2 separate regions of the Homo sapiens genome follow, and region 1 is linked to region 2. The links are contacts of gene promoters, found by promoter capture Hi-C in human tissues and cell types (Jung and others, 2019). All regions are on one chromosome and are shown on one strand. Each heading gives the region's core, a stretch centred on a gene start or on the middle of the fragment in contact. The rest is flanking DNA. Distances are from core to core; before and after follow the strand shown.

The links. The method cuts DNA at HindIII sites, captures the fragments that hold promoters and counts their contacts. A contact is called where the count stands out against the background at its distance.
Region 1: a contact is called between a fragment that was not itself captured here and the fragment with the promoter of COL13A1 in region 2, in 2 of the 25 tissues and cell types used here (neural progenitor cells and pancreas).

Annotation. Positions count from the first base shown.
Region 1 is chr10:69,712,638-69,719,028 of GRCh38, forward strand. No RefSeq gene overlaps it. Among named protein-coding and RNA genes, the nearest start is that of LINC02651, 31 kb to the left of the region's middle. The HindIII fragment of the contact is 9,757 bases long and covers 1-6,391 here.
Region 2 is chr10:69,798,946-69,805,837 of GRCh38, forward strand. COL13A1 (collagen type XIII alpha 1 chain) reads left to right here and starts at 2,961. Exons shown (of 41, transcript NM_001368882.1): 1 at 2,961-3,772. The coding sequence starts at 3,479. It overlaps LOC124902444 (a long non-coding RNA gene), which reads right to left and starts at 2,826. Exons shown (of 2, transcript XR_007062179.1): 1 at 2,101-2,826; 2 at 918-1,191. The HindIII fragment of the contact is 11,372 bases long and covers 1-6,892 here.

The DNA of each region.
Region 1 (6,391 bases), core at 1,979-4,478, 86 kb before region 2:
GAGGACCATTGTTGGTGGGTCTTGGGACTGTCGGGTCAGATGGGCCACGGGCAGCTTGTCTGGGGCCTAGGAGTGCTGTGACCTTTCAGGAATTAGCATGGCAGTAGGGGCAGTGTTCTGGTTGTCAGGACTTCAGAGTCCCAGCCTGGACCCTGCCAGTGACTCCCTGGGTGATGTTAGACAAGGAGCAGTAACTAGATAGGACGATCCAGGTTGTAGCTTCCAGTGCTCCCAGATGTGTGACAAGTGCTTCCCAAACTATGTCTTATAAATGTGTGCTTTTTTTTTTTTTTTTTTTTTTTGAGACGGAGTCTCACTCTGTCGCCCAGGCTCTGGAGTGCAGTGTGGCTCACTGCAACCTCTGCTGCCTGGGTTCAAGCGATTCTCCTGCCTCAGCCTCCCGAGTAGCTGGGATTACAGGTGCCTGCCATCGTGCCTGGCTAAATTTTTTTTGTATTTTTAGTAGAGACGGAGTTTCACTGTGTTGGCCAGGATAGTCTCAATCTCCTGATCTCGTGATCTGCCCGCCTCAGCCTCCCAAAGTGCTGGCATTACAAGTGTGAGCCACCATGCCTGGCCGTGTCTTATAAATTAATAAACATTTATTAAAAAGTCAGAGACAATTCCATAACCAAAGTTTGGAAAACTCTAGCTTGAACAGAGGTGTCGTGAGTTGAATGGTGCTCCCCAAAAGGTATGTCCATGTCTTAACCCCAGGAACTTGTGAAAGTGACCTTATTTGGAAAGAGTGTACTCGGCAGATGTAATCCAGGGTCTCAAGATGAGATTACCCTGGATTTAGGGCGGGCCCCAATCCAATGATGAGTAAAAGGTGAGGGAGACCTGCAGGGTAGAGGGGCACGTAAGGAGTGAGGCAGAGACTGGAGTCATGCAGCCCCAAACCAAAAGATGCCTGGAGCCATCAGGAGCTGGAAGAGACAAGGGAGGATTCTCCTCTAGGGCCTTTTGAGGAAGGACAGTCCTACCCATTCCTTGATTTCAGATCTGTGGCCTCCAGAATGGTGAGAGATAAATTTCTGTTGTTTTTAGGCCATCACATTTGTGGTAATATGTTATGGCAGCCCTAGGAAGCTGATACAAGAGAGAAACAATGTTGTATGCTGCAGGACTTGTCAGGGCCTTTAGTAACAAATGTGCATTAGGAAGCACTAGGGCTGCAGCATAAAACTGTGACATGGGCCAGTCGCAGTGGCTCACACCTGTAATCCCAGCACTTTGAGAGGCCAAGGCGGGCGGATCACGAGGTCAGGAGATCGAGACCATCCTGGCCAACATGGTGAAACCCTGTCTCTATTAAAAATACAAAAAATTAGCGGGGCGTGGTGGCGGGCGCCTGTAGTCCCAGCTACTCAGAAGGCTGAGGCAGGAGAATGGCATGAACCCGGGAGGCGGAGCTGGCAGTAAGCTGAGATCGCGCCACTGCACTCTAGCCTGGGCGACAGAGCAAGACTCCGTCTCAAAACAAACAAACAAACAAACAAAAAAACAACTGTGACATGAAGCACTTGACTGGGGAGCTCCCCTCAGGACTTGTGTCTTAAAGAGCACATTTTGGGGGATGCTGACCTATGACTTGGTGGGAGAGGTTGGGGAAGAAGGGAAAGTGTGGGGGAACCTGCTTGGTCTAATCTTTTTGGAAATGAGGTGGGGGTCATGGAGTCCGGGGCTCTGTCCCAGATGCAATGAGGTGAGGGACTTAGGATCACAGGCAAAGGAAGTCACCTTGCAGCTCAATCCACTCCCAGAGGAAGTTTGGGTTAGAGGGGTACAGGGAGGAAGCAGCTGGAGGAATCCTCCCAGCACACCTTTCCAGCCTGCAGGCCAGGCCGCTGCCTGTCCTGAAATCCTCTCCCGCCTGCCAAGGACAGGGTGGTGGGGGCTCCTGCACCCTAGATGTCTCTATTCTGAAGAGCCAGGCTTGTTTGCAAGCCCAGGGAGCTAAGAGTTAACGATAATCACCATAATGATAATTCCAGGTATGATTTATTGAGAGATTACCCCTGCCAGAACCTGTGCTGAGTGCTTTATGCATATTAATTAATTAATTCATCACAACTGTATTAGCCCATCTTATAGGCGCAGAGATGGAGGCACAGAGAGGTTAAGTAGCTTGCTCCAAGTCACACAGCTAGTAAATGGGAGATCCAGGATTTAAATCCAGGTTGTCTGACAGCTCTCAACCATGAAGTCACACTACCTTCCCCCAGATGCAGGAACTCTAGGAGAGAATGCTCATTCATTCATTCACTCAATATTATTGCTTGCCTGCGCCCTGCCAATTGCTGGGCCAAGCCTTCAGGCCACAGCGCTGAGCCTGGGAATTCCGGGACCCAAAGAGTCCTTACACAGCATGGTGGGGAGGCAGCCAGGACACCGAAGATGGCAGTGATGGTAGTGCTGGGGACAATGGCCACAGGGTGTTGGTAGGGGCTTCCAATCCAGTCTCAGCGCTCAGGGACTGTGCCCTGGACTCAGTTTCTCTTTTGTTCACTGAACTAGGTATTCACGGGCAAATGGGGGTCAGCCCAAAGGAAGGGGGTTCAAGCTGAAAGACGTGAGAAGGCTTCATCCTGAAGCAGCACGCTGTCTTCCAGGAGCTGGGTCTACTTGGCCATAGCTAAGAGGATGGGATGGGGTTTGGGAATGGAGCCCTTACCCACAGCCTGCAAGGGAAGCAGGTGGTCCAGAAGTCTGAAGTAGGCACAGATGAGACACTCAGCCTCCAGTCTCCAGCATCACTCCCTCACACGAGGCTCTGCCGAATGACAATAGCTCCATTTATCCACACATTTTGCGCCAGACATTTTGCTAAGCGTGTTACATAAATGGCCTTCTTCAATCTTCACTGAAACTCCATGGGGTGCAGTTACTGCTAACTCCATTTAACACAGGAGAAATCAAGGCTCCTTGTGGTTGTGCTACTTGACTGTGCTGGGGGTTGCACGTGGTCTGTTGGACAGAGGCCTAGATTTAACCAGGGATGACATTCAACATGTTTCACAATAGGGGCTTTGGAGACTCTGACCCCTCAGTTAAGATGCCACCCAGAAGCTTGCTGGTGTGCACCGGCTGAACGTCAACTCTACTTGTAACCAAAGCAAGCACTTGGAATCATGCTGGGAATATAGTAAGCACCAGAAAAATGTAGCTATTCCTTTTCTTGTTTTCTTTATTAATCACCCTGTCTGGGACTATGGGGAAAGCGGGCCATTCTGTTCCATCTCTCCTCCCATTTTTTTTCTGGTATATTTTTCAAAGCTCTTATTTACAGGCTATTTTGCTGCTCAAGAATCTTCAATTGCTCCCCTTTGCCTACAGAGAAAACTCTAACTCCTCTGCCCAACAGTCACGGGTCCCCTTGGCTGGCTCCAAACTCCCTGTCCAGGTGGACTTCTGCCTGCTCTCTAAGGAGGTCCTTCTCCCCCAGGCTGCCTCTTCGCTGTGTCCCGATGCGCCATGTGCTTTCCTCCCCGGGGCCCTCACTGAGCCATGACCCCTCCTGAAATATCTCCTCACCCTCTTCACTGACCTGACTTCAAGGCTGCTGAAATTCTGCCTCCACCAAGAAGCCTTCTGAATACTCCGGCACTCAGAGGGCTCCCATTTTTAAATGTCCTGCAGCTCTCTCTGTTCTGCTAACACTTGTTCACGTGCCATGTGGCAACTATTTTTGGTCTGCTTCCCACAGCCCAATCACAAAATCAACCTCTTGGTGTCAGGAGTCAGCACTTCCCAAACTTTTATGTGCCGTGAATCACCTGGAGATCTTGTGAAGCTGCAGCTCCCGGGTGAGGAGGCGTGAGGTGGGGCCCAAGACCCCGCATTTCTAACAAGCTCCCAGGCGATGCTGTGTCCTGGGGCCACACTTGGAGCACAAGGGCTGAGCCATCCGGCAGAGCCTCTGTCCCTTGGTTCTCAGCCCTGGGACCTGAGAAAAATACTTCTCCTGGGCCCTACCTCCAGAATCTCTGCTTATTGGTGGAGAGCGAACCAGGTACTGGTGTGTTTACAGAGCTTTTCAGGTGACTGTGATGGGCAGCTAGGATAGAGCCACTGAGCTGGCACCGTCCCTCACCCCAACAGGTGTGCGTTTTTATGTGGTCCAGGATTCTCAGATTAGACCCTGTTGGAGGGCAGGAAGCTAGTTCCTTAGGCATGGGGCAGGCTGGGGCAGCCAGAGCCCTACAGTGTTTTTGTGGGTGGGTGCCCACTAACCACTAGGGAACTTTGAGGGGATAGAGAGAGAGCATCCTCCCTGCACGGTCCCAGCCAAAGGCATCTCTGAACCCACCGACACCATCCACCACAAGGCACAGACAGTTGACAACTCAGGAGGGACCAGGAGGGGAGTCTCAGGAGCGGTTTGGCCAGAAGCTCCCTCCTCCTGCCATTCGGCCTGGCTGGGCACCTGGGAACCAAGGACTCCCCTCCTGGCACCCAGGAAACCGCCACTGTGCCGAGTTAGAAGGCACAGGGCGCCCTCTGCTGGGAGGTTTGGGTTTGAGCATTTCTCCCCAGGGACTCAGGTAGAATGGGGTAAATCAGGGGAGGGCAGGGAGGGCTGTTCTGTGTCTCTTCTTTGTCTTCCTATTTCAGGGTCTGCAGAGCCAAAATCCAGTTTAGACGAAGGATCGCAGGTTGAGACTCTGAAGGGTGGGACGGATTTGCTCACGCAGCCAAATCACACTGAGGCTCTTTCTGCCCGTTTCACCTTTTCCTTCTCGTTATCATCACCGTCAGCACCGATCCACCTGCACTGGCTCAGGCTTCGAGGCAACAGGATTGAAAACACAGCTTTTGTTCTGTGTCTCCAAGAAGGCTCAGCTGCTCTGAGCACCCACAGTTCCTGATCTGGACTCCCTTGTGGTTTGTAACGCACTTGAGTCAATGTGGGGTCAGTGTTAGGAGCAGTGGTGATGAGAGTTAGAATTCAGTCTGGGGCTAGGACCAACGGGCATTCTTACAAAGTCAGGGATCAGACTGCATCCAGAGTCCAATCACCAGGTAAGCACCAGCAGGTAGGTCCGGCTCACTAAAGGCTATGGCCAAGCCTCTGGCCACAGTGAAGGAGGCCCGTGTCTGGGAGACCAAGGCAGAAGAAGAAGACCGAGAAAGCAGAACATGTCCCTGTTTCCTCCAGCTCCCCCAGGATGGCTGCTCTGAGCTTTCATGATGCTATGGGCCCGTAGTTCAGGGGTCAGCACGCAGTGCACCAATGGCCAGCCCTCTGGGCTTGACTCCATGGTGGGCCCACCCTGTGGCTCTCTCTCAGGGTGCAGTGTCTTACTGTAATATCTATCAACTTTGTCATAAATGCATGTTCTTGGCCCAGGGGAGGGTGAGCTATACCGAGGGGAAGGGGTCCAGCATTATTTTAGGGTGGAGAGTCAGCATGTGAACACGTGTGGTCATTGATGCTACTGTAGACCAGGGGCGTGAAACCTGGGGCCTGAGGGTGGGCGCCGCAGGCCACTGAGGGTCCACAAACCCACCTGGAATTGTGTGGGATTTGTGTGTGTCCAATTTTATGTGGTTTTCCATCAGATTCTCAAAGGACCATAACCAAAAATTAGTTTAGAATCCTTGCCTAGGCCTATTCTTCCCTTTATTTATTTACTTGGAGACAGGGTCTTGTTTGTTGCCCAGGCTAGAGTACAGTGGCACAATCACGGCTCACTGCAGCCTCGACCTTCCAGGCTCAATTGATCCTCCCACCTCAGCCACCTGAGTAGCTGGGACCACAGATACGCACTTCCACACCCGTTAATTTTTGTACTATTTCGTAGAAATGGGGCTTCACCATGTTGCCCAGGCTGGTCTTGAACTCCTGGGCTCAAGCAATCTTCCCACCTGGGTCTCTCAAATTGCTGGGATTACAGGCATGAGCCACTGCACCTCGCCCTTATCTTTTTAAAAAAACACTTTAAAAATAGCTTTATCGAGGTATAACTGATAGAGCATGAATTGCCTATATTTAAAGTGTTCAACTTAATAAAAAATGTTGACATATGTATACATTGTGAAACGATCACCACAATCAAGACAGTGAACATCCTTATCACCCTCAAAAGTTGATCTGCTTTCTGTCACTATAGATGAATTTGAATTTTTCTAGAATGTTCTATTAATGGATGCATACAGTGTATACTTTCTTGGGTCCAATTTCTTTTATTCTGCCTAATTAATTTGGTGGCCATCCACATTACTGTGTGTGTCAGCAGTTCATGGCTCTTTATCACTGAGTGGTGTTCCATTGTGTGGAAGGACCACAATTTGTATTTCCATTCATCTGCTGATGGACGTTTGAGTTGTTCCCAGTTTTTGGCTATTACAAAGAAAGCTGCTATGAGCATTCATGCACACATGGGCA
Region 2 (6,892 bases), core at 1,711-4,210:
GTGGAGGAAGAGAAGTGGGGTTTGCTCAATAAAAACGGGCTGGGAGCAAATGACAGGATTTTAAGGTGTAGAAAACAGGAGAGAGAAGGGTGGCCTTCCTGGCAGAGGGTCTAGCAGGAGCAAAAAAGTGGAAAAACACAGAAAAGACTTGAAGAACAGTAGAGGCTGTATGCCTGGGGCATTTTTTCTTCATTTTTGTCTAGGTGTGTAACCAAGACCACAGTTTAAAATCAAAGTCTTTGGGTTAGCATTGGAGGCCCTCTTTCTTCTTACTGCAAACAAGAAAATCTATTTCCTGGTGTTTTTCTTGAGGCATCTGAATCCCCCCCCTTTCTTCTGGGAGCCCTGAAGCACCTTTTGTGGTCTTTACATGTTTTGTGGATTTTCGCTATTCTGCCTTTTGTGGCGGTTTTATGTGAACATGACTTGTCTTCCTTAATCAACTGTTTTTAAAGCTCCTGGAAGGCACTCTTTTCACCTCAGTGTCCCCAGGTCCTGGCCCCCACCTATGAAGAAAGAAGGGTTCAAGATAAGCCACATGAGGCTGTAACTTGTGCCTGGGGTAGACAATGCTCTACCTGAAAGAAAAATCTCCCAGGGCAAGAATTCTAAGCAGTGTGGGAAGAAGAAGAGGGATACCTGGGGATCAGGCCCCTCAACACAAGCTAACTCCTGCTGCTCACAAGCTGCTACTCTCAGCTGTCAGGTAGGGAAAAAATGGAGGTTAACTGTGATCCATTTGCTTTCTCTGGGATGGAAACTTCTTCCTGTTTCACAACTGGGAGCCCAGAGCTAGCTGTGTCTGAGATGGCCCTAGCAGCCATGAATTCCAAAGAAGGAGCCGATGCCCTTTATTGAGTGCCTGCCCTGTGCCAGCACTGTGTTCACTGCTTTACATACATTACCTCATTCAGTCCTTCCAGACGGGTAGATACTTTTATTATCAGCCCATCTTACAAATGAGAAAACTGAGCCTCCGAGATGTTCAGCAGCTTCCACATTGACAAAAGGGAGATTTACACCCAGGTTTCTCTGACTCCAGAGTCCCCCTGGAAGCTCCAGGGTTTGCAATGCTGGGGCCAGGTCAGGCTAGCGCAACACCCTCCTCTTTCAGTTCCCAATCACAAGGATGCTCCAGCTCCAAACTGTTTAGATTTCACTGCCTGAGCATTCCTGAGGGCCTCCAAAGTCCTGAAAGGGAAAAGATCAGTTTGCAGAATAAGGAGGGAATGAAACTAACTCCCCACCTCAGTTCCTCCATTCAGACTAGCCTGGGAGGGGAGTGGGGGAAGTCCAAAGTCCCTGAATTTCCTGGCCTGTACCTCCCAGTGCAGAAACTCTCCAACGCCCCCTGGTGTTCTTCAATACCATCCAAGTCTCCCAAGGATTCATTCCTCTGTAGAGTGGACTGGGACATCCCATCACAGGGATGGAGAAAACAGAGTGCCCTTGCCACTGAAGCCATCAGGAGAATCCTAGAACTGGAACTGGAACCCAGAGCTCCTGGCCACGGGCTCTTTCAGCAGCATCGCCTTCTATTCCTGTTGTCCTCCATAGTGGCTGACTGGCCCAGCAGTCAATGTTACCTTTATTACATATGATCTCAGTACTTACTATGTTACAAGTCCAATATGCACTATTAAGTGTGCCACACTTTATTAGAAGTGCAGTGACACTGTATTATATATCAAGTTCCATCAGGTCAATATAGAAAATGGGAAGTTTGTACTGGCATGCCTTGTTATTTTGAAATGGAATCCCAGCACCACTGCTGCCCCCACCTCCACTGCATATTTGAAAACCCAGTCTACTCTCCTCTGCCCGCTGTTCCAGGAAGACAGGCTTTCTCCCAAAAACTCAGTCCCACCACCTCATTCACAGGAATGTCAACAGGCACAAGGAGATAAAGTCTCTTGGGATACAAATGCTACTTAATGTGGGGGGTGGAGGAGGTGACAAGAGAAGAGAGAAAACTACCAAATGCCCTTCAGGCCACCAGTTTTTCTCTAGTGGAATATAGGAAATGACAACAGGAGAGAGCCTGGTTAGCCCTAAGCCTCCCGCAGGGATGGAACCTGAGTTTGTGTAGGAATTGCTCACCTTTGATGACTGGGATGATTGAGGCAGGCTGGTCTCACCACACAGGGATAGATGGCATGGGTCTCAGATTAATGGCAGGCAAGAAGGGGAGATGTCAGGACTGGCAGGCGGCCCCAATGAGCCACCTCTCAGATACCTGGAATAAGATCTCCTCCGTTTTCAGTGTCTCATACTACCTCAGGTCTTGGTCCTGAGAGGAAGGGCTGCCAGCTCTGCTGCCCCCTGGAGGGCTGACTTTTCACCCCAGAGTAAAGATGTGGTTGGCCGCCCGGCACTGGAGGAGCTGCAGATCTCAGGAGGTACAGAGCCCCCGGGGAGTCGGTTGTCGGGGGAGAAGGAAGGGGAAAGAGGTTGGGGGCTTGGGAGTAGAGGAGCGGTGGCTGAAGGGATCAGGTAGTCCTGATCAGGACGTGGAGATCCACCCACAAGCCCTGACAATAACTCAGTCGAGTTCCTGGAGGGTCTCAAGGGCTGGGAAAGGTGGAGTGGTGCCTGCCCCAACGCGTCCATGGAAGGTGGTGCCCGCCTCACCGCCTCCGTGGAAGGCCAAACGAGCCCTCGGTGTGAATCCGGAGAAAGAGAGGGAAGTGCAGCGCCAGCTCCACTCCACACCCCCTTCCTGCCTATAAATAACCCCAAGTGTCACTTCAAAGAGGACGGGGAGCGCGGCAGAGGGGCTCCCGGGCCGGCGGGCTGGGGCCGCCGGACCTGCTCACCACGCCCCCCACCCTGGGCGAGTTTGCATAAATAAACAAATCCAAGCCGTCGGCCCCGCGGGAGGTGGAGGAGGAGTGACGAGGAGGAGGAGGAGGAGGGAGGGGGGAGGGAGAGATTAGTTTGGGAAGTAGCACGGATTGCTCATCCGATCCGTGCCGCCGCAGGGAGTGTGTCAAGTTACAGAGGCGCCGGAATCGGCCCCTGCGCTCCTCGCCAGCCGCCACGACCCACCTCTGCCCATGGGGCCCTCCGTGTGCGCCCCTTCGCCCGGGGACTGAAACTGACTGGCCCGGGAGACACGAGGCGCCCAGAAGGACTGACAGCGCGGCACCAACTGCTCTGCAGACACTTGAAGGGAAAGACTGGGCGGAGAGAAGGAGAGCCGGTCAGATTCCCCTAACTTTCCTGGACTTGGAACGTTCTTCGAAATAACTTTTTTCTCACCTAGGTGTACCCCAATTACCGCTGGTTGTGCTTTTTCGGCACTTCCTCTCCTACTGCTAATTTTTCCGTCCTCTTTGCCGGGAGCAGCGGAAAGGGACGTTTTCCAGCGATACAAGCCCTTTCCCCCTGCCCCGCAGTTTGGATAGAGCCTTTTGGCAGCGGCTGTCGCCTTTATTTATTCTATTTATTTATTTATTGGTTCTCAAGACGCGAGAGGATGGTAGCGGAGCGCACCCACAAAGCGGCAGCCACCGGTGCCCGCGGCCCTGGGGAGTTGGGCGCGCCCGGGACGGTGGCTCTGGTGGCGGCGCGGGCGGAGCGCGGCGCACGGCTGCCGAGTCCAGGGTCGTGCGGGCTGCTGACGCTGGCCCTCTGCTCGCTGGCACTCAGCCTGCTCGCCCACTTTCGGACGGCCGAGCTGCAGGCCCGGGTGCTGCGCCTGGAAGCGGAGCGCGGGGAGCAGCAAATGGAGACGGCTATTTTGGGACGAGTCAATCAACTGCTGGACGAGGTCTGTGCTCTTTGTTGCTGGCTTTTATCCCTCCCCGCGGCGCCCCCTCGCGCAGCCTCCAGACTGTTCAGCCGGTGTCCGCGGGCGCTCGCTCTCTGCGAGCCCCAGGTTCGCGCGAGTTGCCTGCGGGAGGGGTCGGGGACACGGACAGACGCTGCCCTACCAGGGATTCGGAGGACCTGGTGGGCAAGAGCATGACCCAGCGACTCCCGCCTCGGGCAAGCGCCCCCGGCTTCCAGCGCTGGGAGCGCCCTGGGCACGCCGGGCAGGTGGAGGAAGGCTGGGCGCGCGGAGGCTCGCGGAGGCGGGCAAGCTCCACTCCTCCCTTTCGGGACCCGGCCAGGGTGGTGTGACAGCCGCCCCGCGCCCGCGCAGCGGCAAGCGCGCCCAGAGGCCCAGGCCGAGGCTTACTGAGCCCCCATGGCCCTCCCCCTCCACCCCTTAAGGACCCGGGGGGTGCGGGGAGAGGGGACAGTTCTTGCAGGGGGTGGTGCCCTGGTCTCTGCTCACTGGCCCAGGCCGCTAGGGTCCAAGTGTGGGTCGCCTGGCTCTGCTGTCCTTGGCCACAAATTAGTCCACACCTTCTTTTTCCTAAACCAGGTTTCTTATTTTTCTGGAGAAAGGATGCTTTCTTCCATTCTCCAAATTTTTTTGATCCAAGTAGATTAAACACTACTAGCGTGTCAGGTAGCTATGGCAATCTTCGGAATACAGGAAAAGGCTGTCCCCTCCCCAGGAAGGAGGGACATGCAGCCTCTTTGTGCCACCAGAGGAAAGGCTGGGCCTTGACAGGGTGAGGCTTGATGATCTGTGGGAATCTGGACAGCACAGGGGATTCAGGGCCCAGATAGAGAGGAGGACAGGCAGGTGGGGGCCGCAGCAGTCTGGGAAGAGGTCCTGGAGCAGGTCCTGGCCATGGAAGGTCCTGGCCATGGAAGGTTTCCATGGGGAAGAAATGGGAGAGGATATCTTACTTAGCTGGAGGGAGTGTGCAGCAGTAAAGATCACGGTGGTAGAGGCCAGCAACCCTGGGTTTTTATCCCCACTCTGCTACTTGGAAGCTTGGGACAAACGCTCCAACCCCTCTGAACATGCGAAACAGTGCTGATGTAGCAAACACTGGAGCACAGCTCTAACTGTGGTGGGTGGGGTGCTGTGAGCATTTTGGCAAGATGTACCTATTCCCTATAGCCAGGCTCTTCTCAGCTGCCCCTGCCAGGCTGGCACCTGCTGGAGCAGTTCTCCAGGGTGGCCAAGGAGGAGATTGCAGGGCCAGAGCAGAGAGAGCGGTCACAGGGCAAGCGTACTGGTGCTAGTGGTGCACCCATGACTGCTGCTGTCAGCTCATTCCCACGCCCTGCCAGGCTCCAGGGAATCCGGAGAACTCCATCGGGCCGTCCATGGTTCCCTGGGCCTGGGGTGGAGGTGCAGCATCTCTGGGCTCAGGCAGAATGAGCCCAGACTGGCTGGGTGGTGAAGAAGGTGTCAGGGCAGTGAGAGCTCCTCCAGGTATCTCGGGGGTCCTGGCTGCTGAGGGATAAGCATCTGATTTTCAGGGTTTAGCACAGCCCCTCTCTCCATGCTTTCCCCTTCCCAGACCTTCCTGCTGGCCTGACCATGCCCTGGCCTTTTCTAGCTTCTTGCTTCCACTGCTTCAGACTTAGACATGCCAAGTCGCATACTCTAGGGGCCTTGGGGCTAACTATTGTATCCGACATGCTCACTCCTTCCCTCCAAGCTGCAGCTCCATATTTACCCTACTGAATACAATCTTTTCAACTGCTAGATATGAAAGTTATCCCAGAGAGCATCTGAACTGAACCCCATTTTTCAGATGGGGAAGTTGAGCCCAGAGTCACATGGCGAGGCCCAGGACTAGAACCTCAGCCTCCTGGCCCTGTATACAATGTTCTTTGCGCTGTATCCTGCCACCTTTTTTTTTTTTTGGCCTATTCTCATTCATTCATTCAGAAAATGTTTACTGAGAGCCTGCTGCGGGTCAGGCATTGTGGGAGACACTTTTGCCCTCCTAAACTTACATACAGGGAAGTAGTGCACAAAGAAGAAAATGGGCAGTGACCATGTCGTGTGCAAAAAAAAAAAAAAAAAAAAAAAAAAAAAAAAAGCTACAATAGTGAAAAAAGAGAGGGGCCTGGGGAATGCATTACATGCAACATTGTCTGATGGTGGTGGCAGTCATGGCAGGCTTCCTTAGGGAAATGATTTTCAAATGAAGAGCTGAAGGATGAATAGGAGTTTGCCAGGCAAAAGCGGGCGAGTGTGAAGCCTTGTTCTAAGGGGACAAACGGAACAGCCTTTGAGGCTGGGGGCCAGAGGGAATTGGGAGAACTGGGGGAAGTCCAGGACCCCGGAGGACTGGGAGTGTGAGGAAGTAGGAGATGTGGCTGGAGAGAGACGGGCAGCCCAGGTCAAGAGGGGCCTTAGAGAAAGTTAGATCTAAATAAGAGTAATGGGGAGCCATTGAAGGGTTTTCAGGAAGGCAGTTATGCCCCTAGAGTGAGTGCTTACGGCTGGCAAAGCAGTAAGGCCAAAAACAGAAGGCTGCTGCAGGCCAGAGGGGACAATGAATGGGGGTAAAAGTAGGGTCAGAGAGGGGTGACTGGAAATGGTGGCTGAGGTCAATAGGGGAAGATGCTGGAGCCAGAGGAAGGGAGCTGTCCCACAGGTGGATGGCGTGAGTGGCCTTATCTGTGGGGGCCTTGTCTGTGCTCCTGGAGGGACACCCTAGGGTTGGGCTGTCCAATACAGTAACTGCTAGTCATATGCAACTCATTATATTTAAACTAACTAAAATTAAATAAAATTTAAATTTTAGCTTGTCTGTTGCAACAGCCTGGTTTCAAGTGCTCAGTGGACACTGCAGCTAGGGACTATGGAGCTGGACAGTAGAGAGAAAGAACTTGTACATCCTCGCAGAAAGTTCTATTGGCCAGCGCTGTGCTACGAGCAGCTTCTGGGCCTGCAAAGCAACTTGAGGGGACCATCCTGGGCCTTTCCCTGTGTAGGTGTGTTCTCCCAGGTCTGAGCAAAGGTCTGAGCAAAGGGCAGAGGAGAGCAATGGGTAAGGCAGAAAATTGGGACAGGCAAAAACCTGCCACA